7 separate regions of the Homo sapiens genome follow, and all the other regions are linked to region 2. Evidence: promoter capture Hi-C in 16 types of primary human blood cells and fetal thymus (Javierre and others, 2016). All regions are on one chromosome and are shown on one strand. Each heading gives the region's core, a stretch centred on a gene start or on the middle of the fragment in contact. The rest is flanking DNA. Distances are from core to core; before and after follow the strand shown.

Region 1 (3,851 bases), core at 872-3,371, 890 kb before region 2:
AAGTGCTGGGATTACAGGCGTGAGCCACCACGCCCAGCCTGCATGCTTATTTTACACTTTATTGAAAGATGTTTCAATACTTTAGGCAACACATAAGAAAATGAAAGAAGGGTACATTCTTCTATCATCCTTCTAGGCATCATGTTATTTTTTCAAATTCTTACTGTTTTAGTGTCTTATTGGGAATAATTGACAAATAATGATGAAATAAGTTCTAGAGTGATGAAATAGTAAAATGTTTTGATACATAGGAAACAATAAGATCATTAAGACCCTAAAATATATCTTAGATTTATAAAAGTGTCCAGTAGCTCCATGTGGTAATTACTACATGGAGTAAGTTTTATCTTTTTTTTTTTAAAGTGAGTTTTTTCTGTTCTTTGGAATACCTTTAAGAATGAATAAAAGTCATGAAGTGTCAATCATTAAAATAGTTGGAACTGCTCAAAAAAGAAACTCAGAACCTAAAATTGGCTCCATTAGATCTTTATGTTGTACCTAGGGTTAGTCTGTGGACTTCTTCGATTTATGCATTCAGCAGTTGTTTATTATGTACTTTGTTCAAGCTTCTGTGTATTTATAATTTTCTCATTTTTAAAATATTTATAGTTTTCTCGTTTTTTAAATATTGAGGGTTAAAAAAATAATTTATGATTGAGTCTTATGTTTAACTTGTATTCTGATCCAGATATTTCCTTAAAGAGTTATTTGGGCTGGACATAGTGGCTCATGCCTATAATCTCATTACTTTGGGTGGCCAAGGTGGGAGTATTGCTTGAGTCCAGAAGTTTGAGACCAGCCTGGGCAACATAGTTGGACACTATCTCTATAAAAAATAAAATAATTAGCTGGGCATAGTGGCACATGTCTGTAGTCCCAGCCACTCAGGAGGCTGAGGTGGGAGGATCGCTTGAGCCCAGGAGGTCAAGATTGTAGTGAGCTCTGACTGCACCACTGCACTCCAGCCTAGGTTACAGAGTAAGACCCTGTCTCAAAAAAAAAAAAAAAAATTACTTGATTTTATATTATAGATTGCTTTAAGATATATTTGTTTTAGAATTTGCTTACAAATTCACAAAAGTGTTTCACACATTTGTTAATGGCAGGGAATATGTAAAACACTGGATTGCTAGTAATTTTATGTGATCTCGAGTGAATCTTATCTAATAGATTAGACTATTTTGCCTAGCGGAGTTCTTTGTGTTTTCAGTGCTGTTTAGAATTTGGAAAGCAATATGGTGTCACTTTTGAAATGTTAAGTCTTTTTAATGAAATCCAAGTGAATAAAACTTTAATTAAGTGCCTACATTCATCTTTAACCCTGTTGCAGATACCTAAGAGAGATATTCTAAAAAATAAATTGAAGACGTTAAAAGGTCTGTTTTGTAAAAGTATAAGGTATTATTTAGAGCTTGTTCAATTTTAATACTTTAGAGAGAAGGATCAGAATTGGATTAAATCTATAACTTGTCTATAGTACTATATATGTGTGTATATGTGTGTGTGTGTGTATGTATATTTTTTTTTAATTTTAGGTTTTGACTGAGGCGAGAGTTTTTCCTGGTTCCAGAATTTTCTTCAGTATTAGTTTCTGGATATGAAAGGATTGATTAGAGAGAAATTTAAGGGATATTATTAAGAGATATAATGCATATAAGACTAAAAGTACCCCCACTGCTTTATTTTTACCGACCGGGCGTTCATCCTAAATTCTTTTTTTTTTTTTTTTCTTGAGAAAAGGTCTCACTCTGTCGTCCAGGCTGGAGTGCAGTGGCACAGTCTTGGCTCACTGCAGCCTCTGCCTCTCGGGCTCAAGAGAGTCTCCCGCCTCAGCCTCCTGAGTAGCTAGGGCTGCAGGTGTGTGCCATCATGCCCAGCTAATTTTTTTTTTTTTTGTATTTTTGGGTAGAGACAGAGTTTCACCATGTCAGTCTCAGGTACTGGAACTGGTCTCGAACTCCTGACTTCAAGTCAAGTGATCCACCCACCTTGGCCCCCCAAAGTGTTGGGATTACAGGCTTGAGTTACAGTACCCAGCCCATCCTAAATTCCTACCAAATAAATACATGATCTCTAGAAACTGATGACTTTTCCATAATTCTATACAAGTAAGCAAGCATAAATTATATATACAATTATATATATAAACATATATCTATGTTTATATATATAAGCAAATGTGTACTGCTCCTTGCAGTGCAGGGCTATCCCATAAGCATCGTGCCCAGAGTAGCACAAGCATAAATAATATTAACTGATATTTGAATCTTGGTCAGAGTTACTCATTTTGAGATAAATTTGATGTGTTTTCAAATTTTGCAGCTCTTAAATCTAGGAGTAACTCATTAATAGATTATACAGATAAAGACAGGACTGTGTATAACACCAAGTAGTCTTCTTTTTGCCCTTGTTGTGAGTACAGGGTGAGCATCCCAAATCCCACAATTTGAAATCCAGAATCTAAGACTACAAAATCCAAAACATTTTGAGCACTGACGTGACACTCAAAGGAAGTGCTCATTCCAGCATTTCAGATTTTCAGATTTGTGATGCTCAAATGGTAAGAATATGATGCAAATATTCCAAAATTTGAAGAAAAAAAAAAAAGCTGAAATCTGAAACACTTCTCTAATCCCAAGCATTTTGGAAATGGGATACTCAACCTGTATTATTTAATTCTGATTAACCAAGTAAGCTAATTTACTTTAGATTTTTTAAAAGGATGACTTAAGGTTTGTCCATTGAAATCTACAACATTTGTATTAGTCATGTTTATTTATTGCTAAGTTATTTACTTCACTGTGGGTAATGGTTATATTAGGAAATGTTCTCTTATTTTGGAACTTATTTTTTTAAATTTAGAATTAGGTTTCAGAAGAATATTCAGTGGCTTGGGAAAATGTTGACATTATATTATGTGAAAAAAGTTATAGTACAGTTTGTAAAGGATAGTCCTAATCTGTATTTAGATATGTATGTGTAGGTAGAAGACTGGAAATGTATATGCTATAATGTTAATGGTAATAACCACAGAATAGGTGATTTGCATGCGTTTTAGTTGCTCATCTTGGTTCTTACAGTTTTTTAAAATTTTAAGTTCTAAAAGTAAAAAACATATTTAAATAAATTTACAAAAATCAACTGTCCTTTATGAATACAGGGATGACAATTAGATGCAACAGTACTGTGACATAACAGTTCACATGGCTGATAAAGAATGCCTTTGCCCACAATCCTATTGTGCATATTGAGGTTTCTATGGGAATGGAGTGGTTAGAAGGAAACCACCTGATGCCTGGAAAGTAGATCATACTAGCCTAGGCACGTAACTGTAGAATGTAGTCTTCCTGTGATTTGTGATTAAAGCCCCTGACATTTGGTGTTAAAATATGTGTTGGAAATTTATTTTGGCCTTGTAGTTATAACTTTAAATATTTATTTTCTCAAAATATACTGTTTCATTTTTAGGCATTATCCAATTGGTTTGCTATTTGATCTTCTTGCATCAAGTTCAGCTCTTCCTTGGAACATCACAGTACATTTTAAGGTATAGTAAATTGCATTTCTCCTTCGTCCCATTTGTGATACATAATAAATAGACTTCGAGTAGAATTTTCTTTTTAAGTGAAGTTATTTATTGCTTTTCCCCTGACACTGTTTTAGTTGCTAAGCTTCGATTAGTATTTGTCTATAAGATACTTTTCAATTTTTTCCTAACTCTTGGCAGAAACACTTAAACTTTTAATATATGAACTGCTTTTCTTTATTAGTGCTGAATACACTTTTTAAAATTTACGAGTTTTTGGGCCAGCCTTGGTGGCTCACGCCTGTAATCCCAGCACTTTGGGAGG
Region 2 (3,422 bases), core at 345-2,844:
CTCTACTTATTTATGAGTAGGAAGGCCGTCAGAGTGGTTAAGAATGAGCATTGGTATTGGAGAGACCTAGGTTGGAATCCTGGCTCTACTTTTTCACTTTTTGTGAAGTCCTGGGCAAAAGTCAGCCCGTTTTCCTTAACTATAAAATAGGGACATTAGTTCTAGATAGTTTCCTGATACACTGAAAAAAACACTCCATAAGCATTAATATTATCATTAGGGGGTCTGCTGGGTCAAGTGCTCCTGGGTTGCTCTTTAAAAAATCCCTCACAGTGGCAGAAGGAGGAGACAATGCCTGCCAGTCCCTGCGTCAGGTGACAGCCAGGGAAGGCACGAGGTGGGAACTGGAATTGGGACTTCTGGGCTGTAGTGGGCTATGCCCCCGTGTTTGCACAAAGTTTGTTATCAATAGCGTGAGTTCTCCCAGAATTGAGGATTCTCAGATTGCCCCAGGAGGGGGTATCTGGGATCAGATGCAGAAAATGATTATGACACATCACTATGAACAGAAATGGTGAACTAAGGGTGAGGCATGGAATTGGGACCATATCACAAAAGAGACGGAGGACACAAGTTTATAATAGTTACCATATCCACTTAGATTCCGGAGGTGAAGGACTTTCTGGTCACACCTATTCTTTCTTCCAGGACTTTTTGGAAGCCAGGGATAGAAAACACACTGGGCACACACTATACCCCTGATGGCTGGGGCTATAAAGTCTCTTCTGGGTGGTCCAGGAAGCAAGACCAGAACACATACCGCTGCTGGCCCGAGGATGATGACATGTAACTATTAAATTTTCATGGGTTTGAGGTCAAGTATCTTGTCTATTATCTTTTCTTCCCATAAACAGTAGGTGCTCAATAAACAAGCATGACAGCAGGAGAGGAAATGAGGAAAAGGCAGGATAAATAAAATACCCCTGATGAGTTCCAGGCCTCTTAATCTTGGTTCTTTCTCAATCGGTAAATATCAAATAAGGGCTCAACCGTAGTCCTGCCAACACCTCCAAAGCATCTCCATAGTCCGGATGCTAAACCACCCAGTGTCCACCAGGGGTCCTGGGATGAAGGGAGACGTGTTTCTTTCACGGTCATCATGATCGATTACTTCTTCCCTTCAAGTCCAGAGTCGCAGGCAGTGGACATAAGGCCACCTCCAGCCCTCTGCTTCCAAGGCTGGGGAGAGGCAAGGTCTCCCTTCGCCGCCGTAACCAGCCCGGGAACAGGAAGGCTGGGGAAGGTGGGGGACTCCATCAGCAAGGAAACCCTGGGGCTTCACTCTCCTACAGGCGGTCCTGCGAGCGCGGCCAAAGAGAGGCAGGGCGCTAGGGAAGGCGCGGGGACCCGGCCTCGGTGGAAGGACTTGTCCCCGGCGCAGAGGACGGGCGGGCGGCCGGGCGTGGGCGAGCGCGTAGCCGGCGTGCTCCTCCGTGCGCCCGGGCGGCGCGGGCGCGGCCGGCGATCCTGCAGAGGGAGCTGTGCGCCGGCCTTAGCGCACGCTCGGTGCCGCCCGCTCCCTCTTGCCGCCGCCGCCGCCGCTGGGCCCGCCCGCCGGGGAGGGGCTCCCGGCCTCGCAGACAGCGGCTTCCTGCTTTCTGCACGTCCTCGCCGCCGCGCCGCCAGTCCGTTTGTGCTAGCTCTGGCCGTGAGCCGGCCGCCCGCTGCCGCCGGCCGCCCCGCAGCTGCCTGCGCCCCAGCCGCGCCTCGCGGCCAGCCCGGCTAGCTCAGGTCCGCTCCCGGAGCCCGCGCCCCTCCACGCTGCCCCCTGCCTGTCCCCGGCCATGCTGTCCCTTCAGTACCCCGACGTGTACCGCGACGAGACCGCCGTAAGTATCTCTGCCTCCGCCCAGAGGGCTCCCGGGCAAAGGTGCCCAGCCTGCCTGACCCGTGGCACCCGCAGCTCCTCTTCCTGTAGGCCTTCGACCCCCGCGTCCCTCCCCTCCCCCTCGGCCTTTGTTTGGGAGAATTGGGCCGGGGGCGCGGGGCTCCTCTGCAGCGCTGGGGTCCCGCGGGCGGTCACTCTGCTAGTGCTGGCGGCGGAGCCTGTGGGCAGCGCCGCCCGGCCGCTTCCTAGAATCAATGGGGTCAAGGGCAGACGCCCGGGTAGAATGGGTGTCTTCAGGGAGTGGGAAGACAGACGGTGTCACTGCTTTTTTGACTGGCGAAGCCTCTTGCTTAAATATGGTGGTAGGAGAAAGTGTCCGCTGGGGTGTGTGTGTGTGTTTGTGTGTGTGTGTGTGTGTGTGTGTGTGTGATGTCACATTTAAAAACGAAAACAAACTTTTAAAACTTACACTTTAAAGTCCTTAGAGTTGAAGCATATTCGTTCGATTTTAAAAGGTGTGTTGAGCGCCTACCCTGTCCCAGGTCGGATGAGGCGCACTGGGCCCTGGGGATGCCAGAGACCCGGACAGAAATGGGGAAGGCGGAGCAGTGACCCCATAGTGTGGCCGTGCTGATCCATGTTTTCTTAAACAAGAAAAGGAGTTGAGAGAGGGTGAGAGGAGGTCTTAGAAGGGAGAGGGGTTGACCTTTTTCAGAATGAGTAAGTTTTGTCTAGTGGCGGAGTTGACCACCATTTGCCTAAGCTGCAGATGAACTCAAGGTAACTGTTGAGATCCAGTAGGCGGAATTCTGGGCAGACACCTTTTTTGTGTAAACGTGAATTTGACGACTTAGGAACTGGATTGCATCCACATGTTGTGGCCGTGATTCTCTTACTAATAGCTACATTTCTCAGATTACTTAAAATATAATCAGAATAAGTATGTATTTGTGTGATACAGTTTTAATGTTTTTCTGTTTACTTTCCCAATTTATGCCAGAAAGTGTTTACTTTAAAGCACGTGCTACATTGGGGTAAAGGGTGCTGACGCTTCGGAGTAAAGGACATACTGTTTTAAATTAAGACTTCCAAGTGACACTGATGCATTCATTCATGGTTTCTTTGACCAGTGGCCATCTGGTAACCATGTTTTCTCAGTCTGCTCAGCTGCTTGCTTATTAAATTTACCCTAACAGCTCAAGAAGCTCTATTCCTGTGGTTTAAAGGTTGTTTCCTTTGAATATGGGAGTAAAGTGATCCTGCTGGAATGGAGAAAGAGGCTGGACTAAATGAAAAGACCAGAGCGCTAGTTCTGGTTCTGTCATTCACTAGTTAGGTGACTTTTAGCAGCTCTTTTACCTGTTATGGGCCTTTTTTCTCATATGAGAAATATTTGGACTGACCATAGGGCTTACTTGCTTCTGCAGTAGGAATGTTGTCATTCATTCATTCATTCATGTGACAGTCTAGCTCTGCAGTGTTCCAGACTAGTAATGGGAAGCCAGGTGACTCTCTTGGTTCTGGTTCTTGAGGATCAGAATATAAAGAATTACCCATTCTGTGGTTTGATAAGTGCAGTTTTAAGTTTGTTTTT
Region 3 (3,833 bases), core at 438-2,937, 810 kb before region 2:
TGTGGATATAATTCTGATGGATGCTTTTATTTAATCATAGTATCAATTAAGAAACTTCTCCTTTGGAGATTAAGTGTCCCTGACTATAATAATGACAGCTTTTCAAATGTTAATTATTATTTTTTAGTGTTGTCAAGACTATTAAAAGTGGGCTTCAGACTCTCAACATAAGTACAGAAAGTGCTTATTTTCAACTCTCCTATTTCTCTACATAAAGGATAAAAGTAGTCTGATAAGTGCTACAGACTCCCACCCACTCCCCTCTCTGTTCCCCCTCTTTCTACCACCAAAAGACTGTTTACTGTAAAGCTCTAAAAGCATTCATTTGGAAATGGTCTGTTCTTTTTATTTAATGAGGTATTGTATATTGTGTACATTCTTAAGCTAATTTTAATGAATCTTCTTTTGAAAACCATGTGATGTAAAATTTGATATGCATGAATATATCTTAAGCCAAATATGCATGGGACAGTTGAAGCAGATATCATGTGTCATTGTTGGTAAAGTCTGGCAGCATATCCTGTGTAAACCCCTGTTTTCTTTTTCTTTGTGCCACATAATATTTATTCTCATTAACAAGACTTCAAAGGAAACTGAAGTTAGAATACCAGTTATTTTTTATTCTCTCTTAATGGGTTCTGTAACAACTAAATACTGTTACCTTTCTTGGTTCTACGTTTCACAATGGTTCAAGAGAGGAATGAAAAGAACTAGTCATTGTTAAGCACTTGTTACATTAGATATTTCATATATCTCATTTAATTATCACATCAATTGTTCAAAGATAAGTTTTCCTCATTTTTCAGATTCAGAAACAGTACTCCCAAAGGTTGATGTAATTTGCTCTAGATACACAGTACGTTGTTGGGAGTTGGGATTCCAACCAAACCTTTGTTATTTCCACTACATTTGACATTCCAAGCTCTATATGCTATGGCCTTTAGTCCACTTTTCTCTCCTTATCCACTGATTTCTCAGAAGTACCATTATATTCAGTCTGCCCTCTGAATACTCAAATGACTTTATCTCTTTCTCTATTTAAAAAAAAATATGTATTTCAAGCTGGAAGCTTGAAGACCTTCTATATTCCCTCCATTATTTTTATCTTCTTTTGAAATTCTCTACTGTTGTAATATTTTACTTTCTACCACAATTAGCATATTTTACTTTGTACCTACTGATATAGCTTCCAACTCTTAGAAAATGAAATTAACCAGTTAGGATTGTTTTGGTTTTGCTCTAAATGCCAGTAAGTCCAGAGTTAAAATTTGTGCTCAAGCTTTGTAATTTTTTTCATAGTGCTTTGTACATATTTCTGTTATCACATAACACTGTATTACAGTTGTTTGCATGTTATTTATCTTTGTATCCATTAGCATAGTGATACCCTGGTAAATGCATAGTAAATATGTAATGAATGAAGATTTCTGATAAAATTTATTCCTGCCTTCTGATCATTACTTAGAGATCCTGCACTTGGGTACTACTATTAAGATAATTCTATCCAGGCTACTTATATGTTAGTAGTAGTAGTCGTTGTTGTACCTATGCTTTTGTTAAACATAGGTAAAACCAAAGCTTTTTTAAAACATGGACAGGAAATAAAAACAATATTCTTTGTTGTAATTTGTTTATATCATTGTAGTGCCTATTACCACTATTACTCAACTAGCAGCTACTTGATTCTCTAAAGTAATGTACCATAGTATGCTTGGGGTTTTTTTGTTTTTGCTAAAGATCTATAAGAAAAGTTTTATTGCTATTCATCTTTGTCACCATTTCAGCAATGAAGCTTCACTAATATTTATTATGTAATATTTTCAAAAATAGTAAGTTCGGTTCATTATCTCAAAATTGTGTGTCAAGTGAAAATATACTGATTTGATGGCCCTAGTAATTGCCAATAGGGTTTTTTGAGTTTTGTTTTGTTTTGTTTAATATACGGAGTCTCGCTCTGGGCTCTCGCCCAGGCTGGAGTGCAGTGGGACGGTGTCAGCTCACTGCAACCTCCGCCTCACAGGATCAAGTGATTCTCCTGCCTCAGCCTCCCGAGTAGCTGGGATTACAAGCACCCGCCACAGCGCCCGGCTAATTTTTGTATTTTTGTTAGAGACGGGTTCACCATATTGGCCAGGCTGATCTCGAACTCCTGACCTCAGGTGATCCGCCCGCCTTGGCCTCCCAAAGTGCTGGAATTACAGGCATGAGCCTCTGCACCCAGCCATCCAATAGGGTTTTTAATTTTGGAAGGTAGCTTTTGGGCATGAACAAGCACACTCATAGTTAGTTGTGTTTTATTAGAGTTATAAATTGTAAAATCTAGTTTTTCTAAAATGCCTTTTCAGTTCAATTAATGCTACTTAGAAATTTAGTAATTGTTGTACAAAAATGAGAGCAGTCTTTTTCACTTCTTGATATTTCCAGAGTCCATCCCTTTTCTAGATTTAATTCTTAAATAACACATAGTACTACTTATATAGTTAGGCAAATCTAATTATATTCTTGATTAATCAATAAATGAACTTTGCTAATTCCAGTTATAGTTTAGTATAGCTGATTTTTTAAGCACCTGCAAATATAACAAGTGAAATCCTGTGATACACTTAAGCAACCCTTGTAAATCAAATAAATTTTACTTATAAATGTAGTAAATCACCATCCTGTTTCAAAAGACTTAAAAACAAAGCACACACACAAAGTAGCTGATGAATAAAAACTTGTTGCTATACCTTGAAAAATACAACATACATAAATTATCAATATAATATTTGTTTCTTCAGCTCAACCAAGAAGACTAGAATGTCCATCTAAGCCTCACTGGAGCAAATGATATTATGCATTCAGTTTACAGGGATTTGGGTCTTTGGGAGATCCTGAGCAGTCTCACTCTGTTGCCCAGGCTGGAGTGCAGTGACATGATCTCAGCTCACTGCAACCTTTGCCTCCCAGGTTCAAGTGATTCTCCTGCCTCAGCCTCCTGAGTAGCTGGGACTACAGATGCACGCCACCACTCCCGGCTAATTTTTTTTATTTTTAGTAGAGATGAGGTTTCGCCATGTTGGCCAGGCTGGCCTCGAACTCCCGACCTCATGATCCACCCGCCTCAGCCTCCCAAAGTGCTGGGATTACAGGCGTGAGCCACCACGCCCGGCCTGTCCAATCTCTTTTTAAATAAACTTGAGCCCCTTGTCATTGTTACATTCTGCCTGCTGTGTCCGTAGGAGACTCCCCCAGCACCTCCATCCGTGCTTGGCTTTTAATTAAGGCCATTTTAAGTTTTACAACCCAGTGCATTGTGCATCTACTGGGCATCTGTTAAGTTTCACCCCTTTGGTTATTTTATGTTTTTCTCTTTCATAGCTTTTTATCACTTTGTTTCAGTGAATAGAATCTCCTTTTACTCTGATGGCATTCTTCCTCCTCTTTATGGACATTGACTCCACAGTCAGTGAGCCAGATATATACCCTTCTAGCCATAAATGGTCATTTTTAATAAACCAACATTTCTAATAATTCTTAATGTATGTAAAACAATATGTATGACCAAAACAACAAAACTGACACTAGTAATAACATAGTAACAGGGTTGACTACAAGAATAGTATATGTTATTATAATCCTTATTTTTTTTGACAGCTCAATACAGAATACATATTAGAATTCAGTAGAGTTCTGTTGAGAGTCAAGTCACATTTAAAAAGAACAATTATAACACTCATTGAGAATTCACTGTGCTAGACATTGTTCTAAATACTTTATATGAATTAATTGTATAACCTTCACAAAAAAATCTATGAGGTATATACTGTTAATATCCTCATTTTATAGATGAT
Region 4 (3,328 bases), core at 101-2,600, 830 kb before region 2:
AGGGGTCCGGGCTGCTGGATTCTAGTGGTCCTTTACCAGCGTGCCCAACATTGCCTTTGTGCTCAGGGGTGAGTCCTAGAGCTAGGCTGAGTTCCTGAGTATTTCATAACAACCCAGCTGCTCCATCAAGATGCATTCCCATAAACAACAGTTCTTAGGCAAATTCGTTTCAGAGAGGGTATAAGTAAGCTTTTGAGTCAGGATTGAGATAGTCTTTTTGATTCGGTAAGTACGTTAAGGCTTGGCTGAGTGCAAACAGCTCTGACATTTGAGGAGACCAATTATTAGGCAATTTTTCTAACTCTGCTTCCACAAGAGTCTCCCTATCAATTACTGAATACCCATTGTGGTTTTTTCCTCAGTCATTTGGGAGGAACCATCTATCATCCTGTCCTGAAGGGAGTTCCTCCTAGGTCTGGTCGGACCTTTGTATGGTAATTAAGATTTAAATCCCCTGTAAGGAAATCTGCAGGGTTAAGGGAATTATCAGTGGTTAGTGTTAAATTACCTTTTTCTGACAGAATAGCCCCATACTTTAATATTTTTGAGTTAATAAGCTACCTTTTTGCTTTTTTGACTTAGAATAATTCTGAACCGGTGAGGTGTGCTCACAATGAGGTTTCCTCTAAAAGTTACTTTTCTACTTTTTTCTGTTAGCAAAGCAGTTGCCGCTACAGATTGAATGCATTTGGGCCATCCGCAGGTCACTGGATGTTAAGGATTTTTGATAGGAAGGCTATGGGTTGTCAGTGGTCTTAGTGTTTTCAGGCTACGCCCTTGTTTACGCTGACAACAAGGTAGTATTGGAGTGTTATAGGGTCGCGGAGAAGACCTTCAATTATCAATTATAGGTTTTACATTTACCCTGGCTTTTAAAGGAATAGGGCACACTGTTTTTTTTTACTATTTCTATCTTTGTCTTTCTTTCTCTGACTCCCTGTTTGTCTCTCTGCCTCTTTCTCCTCTTTGTCTCTCTCCCTCTCCTCTCTGTCTCTCTCCCTGTCCTCCCTGTCTCTCTCTCTCTCCTCTCTGTCTCTCTCTCTCTCTGTCTCTGTCTGTCTCTCACTGTCTCTTTCTCTCTGTCTCTCTCTGTTTCCTCTCTTAGCCATTTACAAACTTGGGGCCCTGGCAAGGGTGGTGGGGAACAGGTCCCACATAACTGCCCATGTCTAGAGCTGTATACCTAAATCAGGAGGGACACCAGGGACAAGACTCCCTGGGTTTATAGCCTAGATGCCTAAGGGCGCAGCATAGAGCTTCCTTAGATCCCTTTGGAGATACAACTTGCTAGAGGAAATGAAAGTCTCAACCATTAGTACCTAGGAGGCAGGGATCAGAGGAAGTAGATTCAGAGGTAAGGAGAATTTTGGGGCTACACTTTCAAGAAAGTCGTGGTTGGGACCCAGGAGGTGTGGGACAGAAGGGAAGGTAGGAGCGCACGCATGGGCGACTGTTGAGTAGAGACTTCTGGCTGCGACATGATCTCAACCGGCTAATGCCGGGAGTTCGGGACGACAGCTTTCTGCCTCTAGTCAGCCCTTGGCTTCCCCAGGAAAATTGAAAGTGGAAGCTGGCTCCAGGCAGACCAAGGTTCCCAACCCAGAAGGGTTGAGGGTTGTTAGAAAGCCCTTCCCCAGATAGCCTCATACCTGAGTCTAAAGTCTGGCGGCCATGCTAATCGTTTTTAACCGGCCGACAGGTGCCCAGTATTTTCCTCCAATTCTAAGGGATAGGCCAGAGTAGCAAGCAAAAGTGGTCCAATATTACCGCTTTGGAGATCCCTTCATGGTTGCGGGTTCAGGTCCCTTTGTGGTCGCCAAATTGTTACCAGGGGGTCCTTGCTCCCAGAACTCCGAAGATGGTGGCGGGCTGCTTCTAAGATGATGGCAAGCCTCGTGTTCTCTGACCTGGGGTTCTTGGCCTCATGGATTCCAATAAATGGAATCTTGGGCCACGCGGTGAGTGTTATAGCTCTATTAGAAGCCACGGGTCACAGAAGAGAACCGTGGAACCCAGTGACTAGTGTTCAGCTCAATTAGGATGAACCCGGGCACTTAGCCGCGTAGGAACAATGGCAAGTCTTTAGCCCAGTCGGGATCGGCAATGGGCGTCTCACTGGATCAGGAGCACAACGGACACCCTGCTAGATCCAGAGGGATGGAAGTCAGTGGCAGGCCTGCGATGGCGGCAAACAGCAGTGGTGGATGGAGAGTGAAAGCTCAGCTCGAGCCGTAACAAACACGGACCAGAAGAGTGCAGTTGCAAGATTTAATAGAGTGAAAACAGAGCTCCCATACAAAGGGAGGGGACCCAAAGAGGGTAGCCCAATAAAGCTATTTTCTAATAACCAAATAGTTTATGGACTGGTGAAACTCCTGAAAGTTTTTTGTGGGATAATTGCACCCAAGCTGTAAAATAATCAGTTTAAGCCCCTCCTTGTTAGATTAGGTTCTTACGATATGCTTAGGTTCTGAGTTGTTTTATTTCCCTGTTTGTTTTACCTTAAGCTTTTTTACAATTCATTGCTGCCTGGTTTGAGTTGGTTCCTTATTCCTTCTCCTTCAAGTTGAATTACAACTAGTAATTGCTTGCCTAACTTTACCTGATAAGATTTTATATCCTGTTCTGTATTCTGTATTTCAGTCATCAGTTTGTGCTCATAGCTTGACAATAACCAGAACAGTGCAAGAACAGTTACAGTATTATGTGTAGTTATCAAACAAGGCTGTCTTAATTTTCTTACATTCCTAAATACTAAATTATTTTCTATGGTATTGATCTACAGTCTTAAGCACCTTCAGAGCTTCAAGGTACTGATCATTTCTTGAAGTGCAGTTTTTCTGCATGTAGTTTTTGGTTGACATTTTTTCTTTATAGAGACAGGGTCTCCACTGCAAGAGTGCAGTGGCACAGTCATAGCTCACTGCAGCCTCCAACTCCTGGGCTCAAGCGATCTTTCCACCTTAGCCGCCTGAGTAGCTGGGACTACAGGTCCACACCACCACATTCAGCCAATCTTTTTATTCTTTGTAGAGACAGAGCCTCTTTCTGCTGCCCAGGCTGGTCTTCAACTCCTTGCCTCAAGTGATCCTCCCACCTTGGCCACCCAAAATACTGAGATTACAGGTGTCCACCAGCATTCCAGGTCCCAGACATTCTACTTCTTTCAGTGCTTTGATTATGTCATCTGATTGCCTATTGACAACATCATTTCTGATGAGAAATTTGTTATTAATCTGAAGATGTTTTGTACATAAGTCCCTTGCCTGTTTTGAGAGTCTCTCTTTATATTTCAGTCATTTGATTATGATGTACCTAGGTGTGGATC
Region 5 (3,602 bases), core at 431-2,930, 850 kb before region 2:
TAACACTATTGAGACTTGAATGATGAGAAGCAGTTATGTAAAGATTAGGAAAGTGGGGATTCTAGGCTGCTAAAACTGAAATGGGAGCAAGTTTGGTATTTACTAGGGACCGAAAAGAAAAATAGCATGACTTAGAGCTTAGTAAGTAAGGTAGGTAGTAACTTAGTAAGTTAGTAAGGTAGACAGTGAGATCTCAGAGAAATGCAGCAATAACTTTCCAAGGGGGTGGAATGGGCCTGGTAGGAATCTGCTTCTAGGGGAAGAGGTATTTTGTTACTCACATTATTTATGGTTGCCTGCATGTAGAGTTTGGTCAGGGAGCAGTCTGCCCCAGATGCAGGCAGTAAGGAGATGCAGTGGGTTGCATATTTTTAAAAATGATTTTAGTATATAACTTAAAATAACCATATCATTAATGTGCATCATAAAGCATTATGTTTTATGGCCCATTAGAAAATATTTGAAAATTTACTCGTTGATGATTTATACTTTAAAAGAGCTTTCTGGATGCTGTGCACAGGGGATAAACATAGGACAGTGACCAAGTAGGAGGCTATTGTGTTGGCTCAGAGAGGTGAAAGTGGTAGTGGTGAACACGGAGAGAAGTAATTGCAGTCTAAATATATATTGATTACTGTTCTTGATGCCAATTTTCTAAGACTGTGGCACTTACTTTGTAGGGTAAAGGAGTAAATGTCTTCTCTCAGTTAATTTTCAGACAGTTACTGTCCAGGTCACAATTGTCCAGGAATTTGGATTTTATTGCTTTTGTGATTCACTGAAACCACAGATTTCCCTGGGTAGAAACCTTCTGCCAAGATGTGTGTTTATGGACAGGATGAAGGATGAACTTCCTCCAGGACTGGCACTGCTCAGCCCTGACGCAGAGGCTAGCCCACTGGGCCCACCTACTTCTGTGTTCATGATGAATTTTCAAGGGCTGATTCTCTTAATTTGACCTGGCTCATAAGGCAGATGAGTTTGAAGATACAGGTCACTTACTGAAAACCTGCTTTTGGCAGCCTACCAGTAATTACTACTTGTTCATTTTTATTTTTCTCCTGTTTTGTCTTACAGAGATGTTTAACATATTACGTATGAAGAAATTAATTCATATGGGTCTATATTTGAATGTGTTTTCTGTTACATACCTTGAAAGCCTCTGATTAAAACAATACAATTATTACATGATCACTTGTAGTACTGATTTGAATAATACTGTTGACAGATGGAAAATTTTGTGAAGAGTGGGTTCCCTTCTGTAGTGATTTTCAGCCATTTGCTTTTCCTTCCAAAGACAAGCTTACAGTCTGTCTTCTATGTGCTGTCACAATCCGACATTTATTTGAAATGCTGTAACTCTGCTCTCCCTTGGCTTCTTAGATGTTAAAGACCAGGAGGTGAATAGTGTATGCATGTGGAGACCATTTCATCGGTTTCCTGCATGAGGGTCCTAGCCAGCTGAATTGAGCCTGAGTAGCAATCCCTACACTCTCCTTATATGTCCTCCATGTCTCCCGTGGGGGATTTTAGACATGTTATTTGTGGCATAAGAATTATTTTGCCTTGAGTTTTTACCTCTCGTAAAGCTTAAGTGGAAGAATAGGTAAATCCTTTAAAGTTATCACTTTTTCCTGCAGTTTGTCCATGTGAGTAACAAAGAATACAAATTAACTTGGTATCTTATGCATTTTAGAGAGCTCTGAAATTAAAAAAAAAATAACATTTTTTCCAGGTGTTTTAAAATTTGCAAGACCAATATAAAAGCTTAATTCAGCAGAGAGAGAGAGGAAAAATGGATGACCATCAGGATTTTTGAGGAATGGTATTTTTCATCTTTTTTTTTTTTAATTGATTGAATATTTCTGTAGAACAGTCCTTCAGTTTTATGCTTTTGATTTGATAGCCTTCTTAAATGTTAAGTTTTATAAAAAGAAACTAACATCAGTAATATTGCTTGTAGCTCTGGCGAGAAGTATATATATTATCTTCCTCCCAATGTGAATAAGCTAAGTGACTGCTAGTTTTAATTTTCTCCTACTTAGTCTTTGTTTTGTTTGGCTCTGCACGGTGGCTCATGCCTGTAATCCAGCACTTTGGGAGGCCAAGGCAGATGGATCACTTGAGGTCAGAAGTCCAAGACCAGCCTGGCCAACATGGTGAAATCCCGTCTCTACTAAAAATACAAAAATTAGCCGGGCGTGATGATGCATGCCTATAACCCCAGCTACTTGGGAGGCTGAGGTGGGAGAACCTCTTGAACCTGGGAGGTGGAGGTTGCAGTGAGCAGAGATCTCGCCACTGCACTCCAGCTGGGGTGACAGAGCGAGACTCTGTCTCTTTTTAAAAGGAACAAAAAAATCCATTGTGAAAGACACTTGGTTATTCCTTCAATCTCAACACTGATTTTCTCTCCTCCTTTTCTTTTCTTCTTTTCTTTTTCTTTCTTTCTTTTCTTTCTTTCTTTCTCTTTCTCTTTCTTTCTTTCTTTTTCTCTTTCTTTTTCTGTCTTTCTTTCTCTCCCCCTCCCCCTCCCTTCCTCCCTCCCTCCCTCTCTCTCTCTCTGATTAGGGTGTTTTTAGCTATTGCTGGGAAAATACCTTTTTAATATAAGAATATAGCGTTTCTATAAGAAGATTAAAGTTAATATCAATTAATACAGATTTTTTTTTTATCGTGTCTTCCTTTTAAACATAGTTGTATTTGGGCCTAATCAGTGGGTTAAGCAGGCTAAGTTTTATGTGAAGAATTAATAAACTCTGATAAAAGAGTGTCTATAAAATATAAGAAAACTATATATTTTACCTTAGGGCTGAGAGAGGAAGACCAAACTTGTAAGGGGTCCCACCTGCAAAGGCTAGGGCTCAGACTTCACTGGAGGAGGTATATTCAGCTCATTGAATTAGTAGAAAAGTTCCCTCTTCCCGCCAGGCCAGAGTTGGTATGTAGTACATTGGCAGTCAGGGCAACCTGGAATGCAGGTGATCAACAACATGTGGCATGGTTGTGCAGAGGGAGTGGCAGCTGGGTGGGAAACCACAGATGGGCAGCCCATGCAGGCCTCCAGAGCAAGCAAATTGAGATGTTGATAAGGGCAAGCGCCCATTAGTGTGCCTATGCAAGCAGGAAGCCTTTGGAGTGCTAGATTCTGTCTTGAGGGCTGGTTAACCCTGGGCCAGGCTCCTGCTGCCACCTTGCTGAGAGACTTGCGTATCTGGACATTGGGCAGAACCGTTTCTCCTACAACTTCTTTTAGCATTTTCTGCTGAGAAATCTTAAGATAGTTGTTGCAGTAGAGATGCTTAAAGGATTTGTGACCATATAGCGATGCATATATTGAAGGGTGAATTTGGAGAAGAGAGTCATACAATTGATAACTGGCACAATCATGTTTCTTTTTCCAGTTTACTTTTATGAGAAATTATGTTCATAGTGTTCTATCCATTCTTTGATTCAAGAGCACATACTATGCATGCACCATGCTAGGTGCTTGAGATTTCATGACAAGGCAGCAAAGTAAAATTTTAAGTATGCATGAAGAATCATTATATTTAGCTGTCACATTCTTGCTTGATACTTGATGGTAGAAAGACACTTTTTTA
Region 6 (3,464 bases), core at 113-2,612, 940 kb before region 2:
TACCTATGGTAAATTGAGAACATTATATAATTCTTCCAGATGAGTGAGGGCTTTGCAAGAGAGGATGTAATTATTATATGAAGAAATGAAAATAACACTCTCCTTTCTCATTTGCAATGCTTATTAAATTGTATGAATTACATGTTACCAGATTGTTTATTCATATTTGCTTTGTTCTGAAAAAGGATTTGAGACTGTTGAATGAAAATAGGTAACACATAAGCAACGAGCTGTGTGGGTTCTTTTCCCTACTCAGAAACATAGAATATAATTTCATATACTGTAGTAATGGCATAATAAAGTGGCTTAATAAGCAGCCAGTTTCAAACACTGCTTAACTGGCTAGTTATGGGTAATTTATGCATGGGATAATGCAGCCCATCAGTTGCTACATTTATTTAGCATCCAGAGGTTTTGCGTAAATGAATCAATCAATTCAATTTAAAAACTAGTATAATTTATTTCCTCCTACTTAATTGACATTGGCTCTGATGTACCCATTACCTCAATTATGGAATTCTAGATTCAAGTCCATAGTACTGGATCTTGGACAGACTGTCATTTTAAAATAGAATTAAATGAGCTCATGTACCAGACATGGCTAGTTGCCAATACTCATTCTCCCTTCTTCAAAACATTACCCTGATTCTGTTTGAGGTGAGAACACTCTCTAACTAAAAGTACTTGATTTCCCAGCTTGTTTTCCAGATAGAGGTAGTCATTTGGCACAATCACGACCAGTTAGATGTGGGTGAACATCTGTGGCGAGGATTTGCTTCCTTGAATGGAATGGTAAACCTTTGAGAGGAGGAAGTCCTTGGCCTCCATCCTTTCTGTCTTCTTTTCGTCTTCCTTCCTGAGACATGAATGTTATGCCAAAGAAGCCAAACCCATCTTATGGCCCAGAGGATTGCAGGGCAGGAAGAAAGAAGCATTTGGAACAATGACGCTACCATGGGGCCACTACCCAAGCCCTAGACTTCTTGTAATGTGAACAACAACTAAAAATCTAATTTTGGTTGAGTTTTCTGCCACCTGCTGTCAAATTTCAAATACTATAAAGGTGCCCAAAGTGGGTGCCAAAAAAATGTTAGCAATTATGTGAGAGATTCCTAAAGATCAGGAAATACTTTAGGAAAGCTTTAATTAATTAATTAATTAACATGAAAAAGGGGAGTAAGTCTAATAGCAGGGAGGTAAAAACAATGATGTTATTAATATTTATTATTATTTTTTTTTAATAGAGACATAGTCTTCCTGTGCTGCCCAGGCTGGTCTTGAAGTCCTGGGCTCAAGCAATCCTCCATGCTTGGCCTCCCAAACTGTTGGGATTACAGGCATGAGCCACCACACCCAGCCAATAGTTATTATTATGGTTAATTTTTTGAGTGCTTACCATACACCAGGCACTGTGTAATATTGTATATATATATAAATATAAATATGCATATAACATACAGCACATATATAAACAGATGTTTATTTGTTATGTATATATAACATATGTATAATTTATTACTATAACAATACTATAGGGTTGCAACTATTGTTACCCCATTTCATAGGTGAGAAGAATAAAGCTTAGGAAGGTTAAATAAATGTGGCTACAGGCGCATGCCACCACACCTGGCTAAATTTTTGTATTTTTAGTGGGGACAGGGTTTTGCCATGTTGGTCAGAGTGGTCTTGAACTCCTGACCTCAGGTGTTCCACCTCCCTTGGCCTCCCAAAGTACTGGGATTACAGGCATGAGCTGCCACGCCTGGTCAAAACATCCTGCTTTTTAAATGAAGTATCAGATTAAGACATGTAGGCAAAAAAGCAATGTAGCAGCAATGCATGAAGAATAGGTTTATCTGTTAATCCCTAAATAGCTGGTATTTGAGTATCAGGAACTACAGAGACATCTAGAGGGGAAGAGGAAAGGTCTGAAACCGTGGCCAAGAGACGCAAAGCTATGCACTGCCCCTCAGAACTTCATGATGGCAAAGAACAGTTTATTGTGTTGAACTTTTGTTTACACTGATGTGTATATATTAAAATAAGACGTATTTGTTAAAGTGTGGTGGTGGTCAGGAGAATACACTTCACAGATCTTTACTGAGTGAGAGTGATTGATTGAGGGCCCAGGGACTGAGCATGCTGGAGATTAGAGGGCAGTCCTATTCCATGGGACTCCTCTGACTGATGACTTTGGCTTGAGACATCTAAAAATTTCTTGTTGCACCTACCTTAGGCTAAACTGGCTTCTATCCACCTGCTCCTTTGCTCCACTGACAGCTGGCTTTCCCAGCCCCTCCTCTCTCCCTACATTTTCCTTTTCTTTTTCTTTTTCTTTTTTTTTTTTGAGACCAAGTCTTGCTCTGTTGCCCAAGCTGGAGTGCAATGGTGTGATCTTGGGTCATTGCAACCTCAGCCCCCCGGAGTTCAAGTGATTCTCCTGCCTCAGCCTCCTGAGTAGCTGGGATTACAGCATGTGCCGCCATGCCCGGCTAATTTTTGTATTTTTAGTAGAGGCAGGTTTTCACCATACTGGTCAGGCTGGTCTTGAACTCCTGACGTCAGTTGATCCGCCCGCCTCCACCTCCCAAAGTGCTGGGATTACAGGCTTGAGCCACAGAGCCTGGCCTTCTTTTTTTTTTTTTTTTTTCAGGGATGTCCCCATGTTCCCTGGGCCAGTCTCAAACTCCTGGGCTCAAGCGATCCTTCTGCCTCAGCCTCTCAAAGTGCTAGGATTACAGGCGTGAGCCACCATGCCTGACCCCCCTACATTTTCTATCACAGAGACTTCTCCTAGAGAAATATTTGTAAATTTAATCCTGTCCTGGAGTCTGCTTCTGGGAGGACCCAGACTAACATGAGTGATAAATGTCTTCTTAAGAAAATGCCTCCAGTCTAGACTGCTCCCTCAAACTCTAGATCTCTTTAGATGTTACCATAAAATTCCATAAGGATACTTTGCAGGTAATCCCCCACCTTTTTAATAGACTTAGTTTTTCTTTTTTCTTTTTTTTTTTTTTTTAGACTTAGTTTTTCTAGAGCATTCTTAGGGTCATAAGAAATTTGAATAGAAGGTACAGAGACTTCCCATATATCCTCTGCCCCCACACAGGTATAGCCCCCCACTAACAACATTGCCCACCAGAGTGACATTAACCAACTTTGAGCTCTAGGGAACACATGCTAAAAATTTTCTTCTTATCAGTTTTATAATTTCTTTGTATCATTAATATTAATACTTCAGCAAACAACAATGCTTAGAGACAGTGATTCATGGGCTAATTTTAGACAGTCCTCACTACATAAATAAGGCCTGTAGTTTACAACTGATGAACCTACATTTACACATCATTATCACACAGTGCCCATAGCTTACCATAGGGTTCACTCTTGATGTTGTACAGTCTAGGGGTTTGGATAACTTATAATGACATATATCCACCATTCTAGTGTCATGCAGAGTA
Region 7 (3,500 bases), core at 644-3,143, 870 kb before region 2:
TGTTTCTTATGTGACTGTTGTAAAGTTTTCTTTATTAAATTTTATTAAATTAATTTTAAAGTGACGTTTGATTAAATCCAACTTAATAATGTTTGGTTAAAATATACTTTATTCCATTTTGTTTTTGGTTATAAATTATTTTTGTAGCTATTATGTTTGGTTTTATTTGTGATGATTATGAATAAGCTTACACTACTGTAATTGAGCTAACATACTTCTAAGACTGAGTAGTCTTGTGAGAGATCTCCACAGCAAAGTCTAATGAGAGGTATGCTGTGGATACTGGAGTCCTTGGTACTTTATTTTCTGTTTATTCAGAATGAGAATATTCATTTCGGAAATCTTTAGCTTGGTAAATGTTGCTTGTAGAAAATATATTTTGGAGTAAAATGCTGAATGTTAATTAATGTAAATGGGTAAAAGGTGGATGTTTTCTATTCTGTTTCTTTTATCAGGAATACTTTTTTCCCTTTAACTCCTACTGATGCTTTAATGCTCATCTCAGTTGTCACTTTCTATAAGAAGCTTTCCTTCTTTTATTGTTTTAGTCAACAGATATTTATTGAGCACCTTGTGTATATCTGACATTATGCTAGGGGCTAGTGATCATCCAGCACTGATGGGACAAACATGGCTCCTGTCTTCACAGAGCTTTATAGAAAAGTGGAGGCAGAACTGTTAATGCTTTCAACTTTCATGACCTTTTGTCCATTTAGGCATTTTTTTCTCTTGTATTTTATCACACTCTGGTATAGTTATATGGTTTATGTATTTTGCTGGCCTATCAGTTAGCCTGGTTGGGGTACATCTTACATTTTTGTATCCCCAGCACCTAGTGTGGTCTTTGGCAGAGAGTAGAGAAACTAAATATTAACTGCATGACTTCTTTATTTTATTCCTTTCTAATACTAACAGGAAATAATATTAACAATTTTTCATAAGTAGTTTCCTATTAAACTAAAGGAAGTGTCTTGTTTGAATTTATTTATGGAATTGGATTTTATGTAGAGTTTTTTCTTCCAAAAGAAGTTTTTATTAATTTGTGAAGTCAGAGATATTAAACCTTTCTGTTAGTGCAATTGTAAATTTCTCAATATTGTGACATAATAGATGGCACATTTATTTCATTTAGAACTGCACTTGTAGATTATAACAGCTAAACAACAGTTTAAACAATTTTTGAATACTTTCAAATGCTAATTTTAATTTCTCAGAACTCTGTGAAAGAGAAATAAGAAAAGCTTATGAAACCAAGAAAACTCATTTAGGACATACTGTGCCTTTCAGTGTTTTTTTTATGAGTTTTCATTTTATATATAAAAATATTTAACCTCTCTGTGAAATAAAGTTAATGGCCACAAGAAATAAAAGAAAGTAGCATTTTTATTTATGAGCAGTTGTTACTGCAAGTGCAGGCTATTACCTATTTAATATCAAGTTGTTTTTCTTATAAGCTAGTGATTTGAGGAAATCTATAAAAAATGTTTTTACCATGACTTAGTTTCTTGCTTTTCGGAGTATACAATCCCAAAAAGGCGGGGAGGGTTGGCATTAGATACGTTCTGTAGACCTGCAAATAAACGCAAGGTTTAACTGCTAATATGTTAAAAGTGTACAGTGTTTCTAAAATGTGGTTAGGCTTTTTCAACTAATTAATATTTTAGAGACAATAATTATTTGATAGTGTGCCATTTTAACTTAAAACTGGTTTTTAAGAGGAGATGGTGATTAGCTAATGGTAATTTTATAACAAGTCACGACATTTGGAAAATACTTTTGTTTGGTAGGTAACATAAAAGTTAAATGCAGCCGTTCCAGCTCTTTGGAGGTTTGTGTGATATAGACTGGTGGGTTGTCATTGCATTGCCTTGTTTTTACTACTTCTGCTTATAGTAGAATAAGTAGACTGAGAAATTATTGTTTTGAGATGGAGCACCAGACCTGATCTATTTATTTATTGCTGTGTCTCTTATCAGTTGTATGATCATGGCAGGTCACTTTTCTCTCTAAGCTGGACTTTTCTTTCTTTTCTTTTCTACCCCTTCCCCAATTCCCTTCCCTTCCCCTAGGTGATGTCTGTAAAGCTGGAGTTTTATTACAAATACGAAGGTGGTAATGCCTCATAAGACTCAAATTCAAGGATTGTAAAGCAATAATCACATACACCTTAATTCTGATGATAGATGTTTTCAGTTCATTTCAAAAGGACTTCCTGGGTGAATAATATTTATTGTTCTCCCATCCCCCTCCTTCTCGGTCTTTTTAAGCAGGACTTACTAGGTAGAAGGAAATAGATAACTTTCCAGAAATAACTGTGGTAACATAGAAAAACTACTAAAACAGAAACAAGAGTTTTTAGACTTGATGCAGCTACTACCTGTGTATCTATTTTGAGTCTTTAATTTCTGTGTTTTTTGTTACAGTGTCAGGTTCTGTTGTAGTTGCAGGTGGTGTAAAAGTAGATTCCTAAGTAGAACTGTAGGAGGCATAACTACTCTTCTTGAACCTTTTTTCTCATTGAAAGACTGATATTGGATAAGCTTCCTTTTTTACAGTCTTTAGCAAAATTCAGATTTTTATCAGTCTTTGGAACACTGAGATTACATTGTATAAATAAGAGCAAAGAAAATAGTAGAATGAATCTATATCGGTCACTCAGTCTCATCTGTTACCAGTATATGGCCAGCCTTGTTTCATCTATTATTTTTCATTCCTTGTCTGTGTGAGTTTTTGGAAATTTTTCTTTCTTCCATTGCCACAAATATTTCTCACAGATTTTATACTCTCATGTTTAATCAAGTCTTGGAAACAACATTCATTGTCTTTGATCTTCATGGCTGCAAATTCAGTCTTCATTATAGGAGAATCATGCCCGGACCGTAGTAGTGTGGATTAGCTAGCCAGTATAAGAACCTACTATGTGCCAGCCTCTGTGCTAAGCACAGGGGACGCTGGGGTAAATATGACAGGCACGATCCCTTCCCTCTGAATGTGTAGGGTAGCAGAGGAGCCAGGCATTAAACAGATCACTTTTACGTAATTGTTACATTTATAACTGGAGTTGTAGAGGAAGGAGGAAGGGCTAGAGAGAGTGGTGTGGTTGTGATGAAAGTTGTTTCAGGCTGAGGGAATGATCTGGGCTAGGTTCAGAAGCAAAGAGCCTACTAAGTTCTGAGAACTGACTAGAATGTGGTGATCAAGATCGAGAGTGGTAAGGAGGTCAAACTGGAAGTCAGGCAGAGACGCTGCCTGTTCAGGGCTTTGTAGGCCATTTTAACAATATTGAACTTAATCCCTGGCAGGAGGAACAGAGAGTGGGATGGTAGGAGACCAGTGAAACATTTTAAGCAGACCTATAACAGAATCAGATTTCCCTTTTTAAGACATCCCTTTGGCTGCAGTATGGTTAATGAATTAGAAAGAAGCAAATGGGAATTGAAAAGGACCAAGTGGGAGTCTATACCAGTGGTCATATCAGACCAGTGGTCTATACCAGTGGT

The links. The method cuts DNA at HindIII sites, captures the fragments that hold promoters and counts their contacts. A CHiCAGO score of 5 or more calls a contact.
Region 1: a contact is called between a fragment that was not itself captured here and the fragment with the promoter of PREP in region 2, in 5 of 17 cell types (naive CD4 T cells, M1 macrophages, total CD8 T cells and 2 more). The highest score is 7.6, in naive CD4 T cells.
Region 3: a fragment that was not itself captured here is called in contact with the fragment with the promoter of PREP in region 2 in 3 of 17 cell types (total B cells, naive B cells and total CD8 T cells); the score reaches 8.7 in total B cells.
Region 4: a contact is called between a fragment that was not itself captured here and the fragment with the promoter of PREP in region 2, in 1 of 17 cell types (naive CD8 T cells). The highest score is 5.2, in naive CD8 T cells.
Region 5: a contact is called between a fragment that was not itself captured here and the fragment with the promoter of PREP in region 2, in 6 of 17 cell types (naive CD8 T cells, activated CD4 T cells, total CD8 T cells and 3 more). The highest score is 6.9, in naive CD8 T cells.
Region 6: a contact is called between a fragment that was not itself captured here and the fragment with the promoter of PREP in region 2, in 1 of 17 cell types (activated CD4 T cells). The highest score is 5.2, in activated CD4 T cells.
Region 7: a contact is called between a fragment that was not itself captured here and the fragment with the promoter of PREP in region 2, in 2 of 17 cell types (total CD8 T cells and total CD4 T cells). The highest score is 5.7, in total CD8 T cells.

What each region holds. Positions count from the first base shown.
Region 1 is chr6:106,292,724-106,296,574 of GRCh38, reverse strand. It overlaps ATG5 (autophagy related 5), which reads left to right. Exons shown (of 8, transcript NM_004849.4): 4 at 3,469-3,547. Among named protein-coding and RNA genes, the nearest start is that of ATG5, 31 kb to the left of the region's middle. The HindIII fragment of the contact is 3,105 bases long and covers 569-3,673 here.
Region 2 is chr6:105,401,254-105,404,675 of GRCh38, reverse strand. PREP (prolyl endopeptidase) reads left to right here and starts at 1,594. Exons shown (of 15, transcript NM_002726.5): 1 at 1,594-1,829. The coding sequence starts at 1,785. RefSeq lists a silencer at 1,317-1,886. The HindIII fragment of the contact is 7,847 bases long and covers 1-3,422 here.
Region 3 is chr6:106,210,749-106,214,581 of GRCh38, reverse strand. The region is part of intron 6 of ATG5 (autophagy related 5); the gene reads left to right. Among named protein-coding and RNA genes, the nearest start is that of ATG5, 110 kb to the left of the region's middle. The HindIII fragment of the contact is 214 bases long and covers 1,581-1,794 here.
Region 4 is chr6:106,227,134-106,230,461 of GRCh38, reverse strand. All of the region lies in intron 6 of ATG5 (autophagy related 5), which reads left to right. Among named protein-coding and RNA genes, the nearest start is that of ATG5, 97 kb to the left of the region's middle. RefSeq lists a silencer at 191-391. The HindIII fragment of the contact is 2,318 bases long and covers 192-2,509 here.
Region 5 is chr6:106,250,597-106,254,198 of GRCh38, reverse strand. All of the region lies in intron 5 of ATG5 (autophagy related 5), which reads left to right. Among named protein-coding and RNA genes, the nearest start is that of ATG5, 73 kb to the left of the region's middle. The HindIII fragment of the contact is 178 bases long and covers 1,592-1,769 here.
Region 6 is chr6:106,341,937-106,345,400 of GRCh38, reverse strand. No RefSeq gene overlaps it. Among named protein-coding and RNA genes, the nearest start is that of CRYBG1, 17 kb to the left of the region's middle. The HindIII fragment of the contact is 440 bases long and covers 1,143-1,582 here.
Region 7 is chr6:106,272,140-106,275,639 of GRCh38, reverse strand. The region is part of intron 5 of ATG5 (autophagy related 5); the gene reads left to right. Among named protein-coding and RNA genes, the nearest start is that of ATG5, 52 kb to the left of the region's middle. The HindIII fragment of the contact is 1,299 bases long and covers 1,244-2,542 here.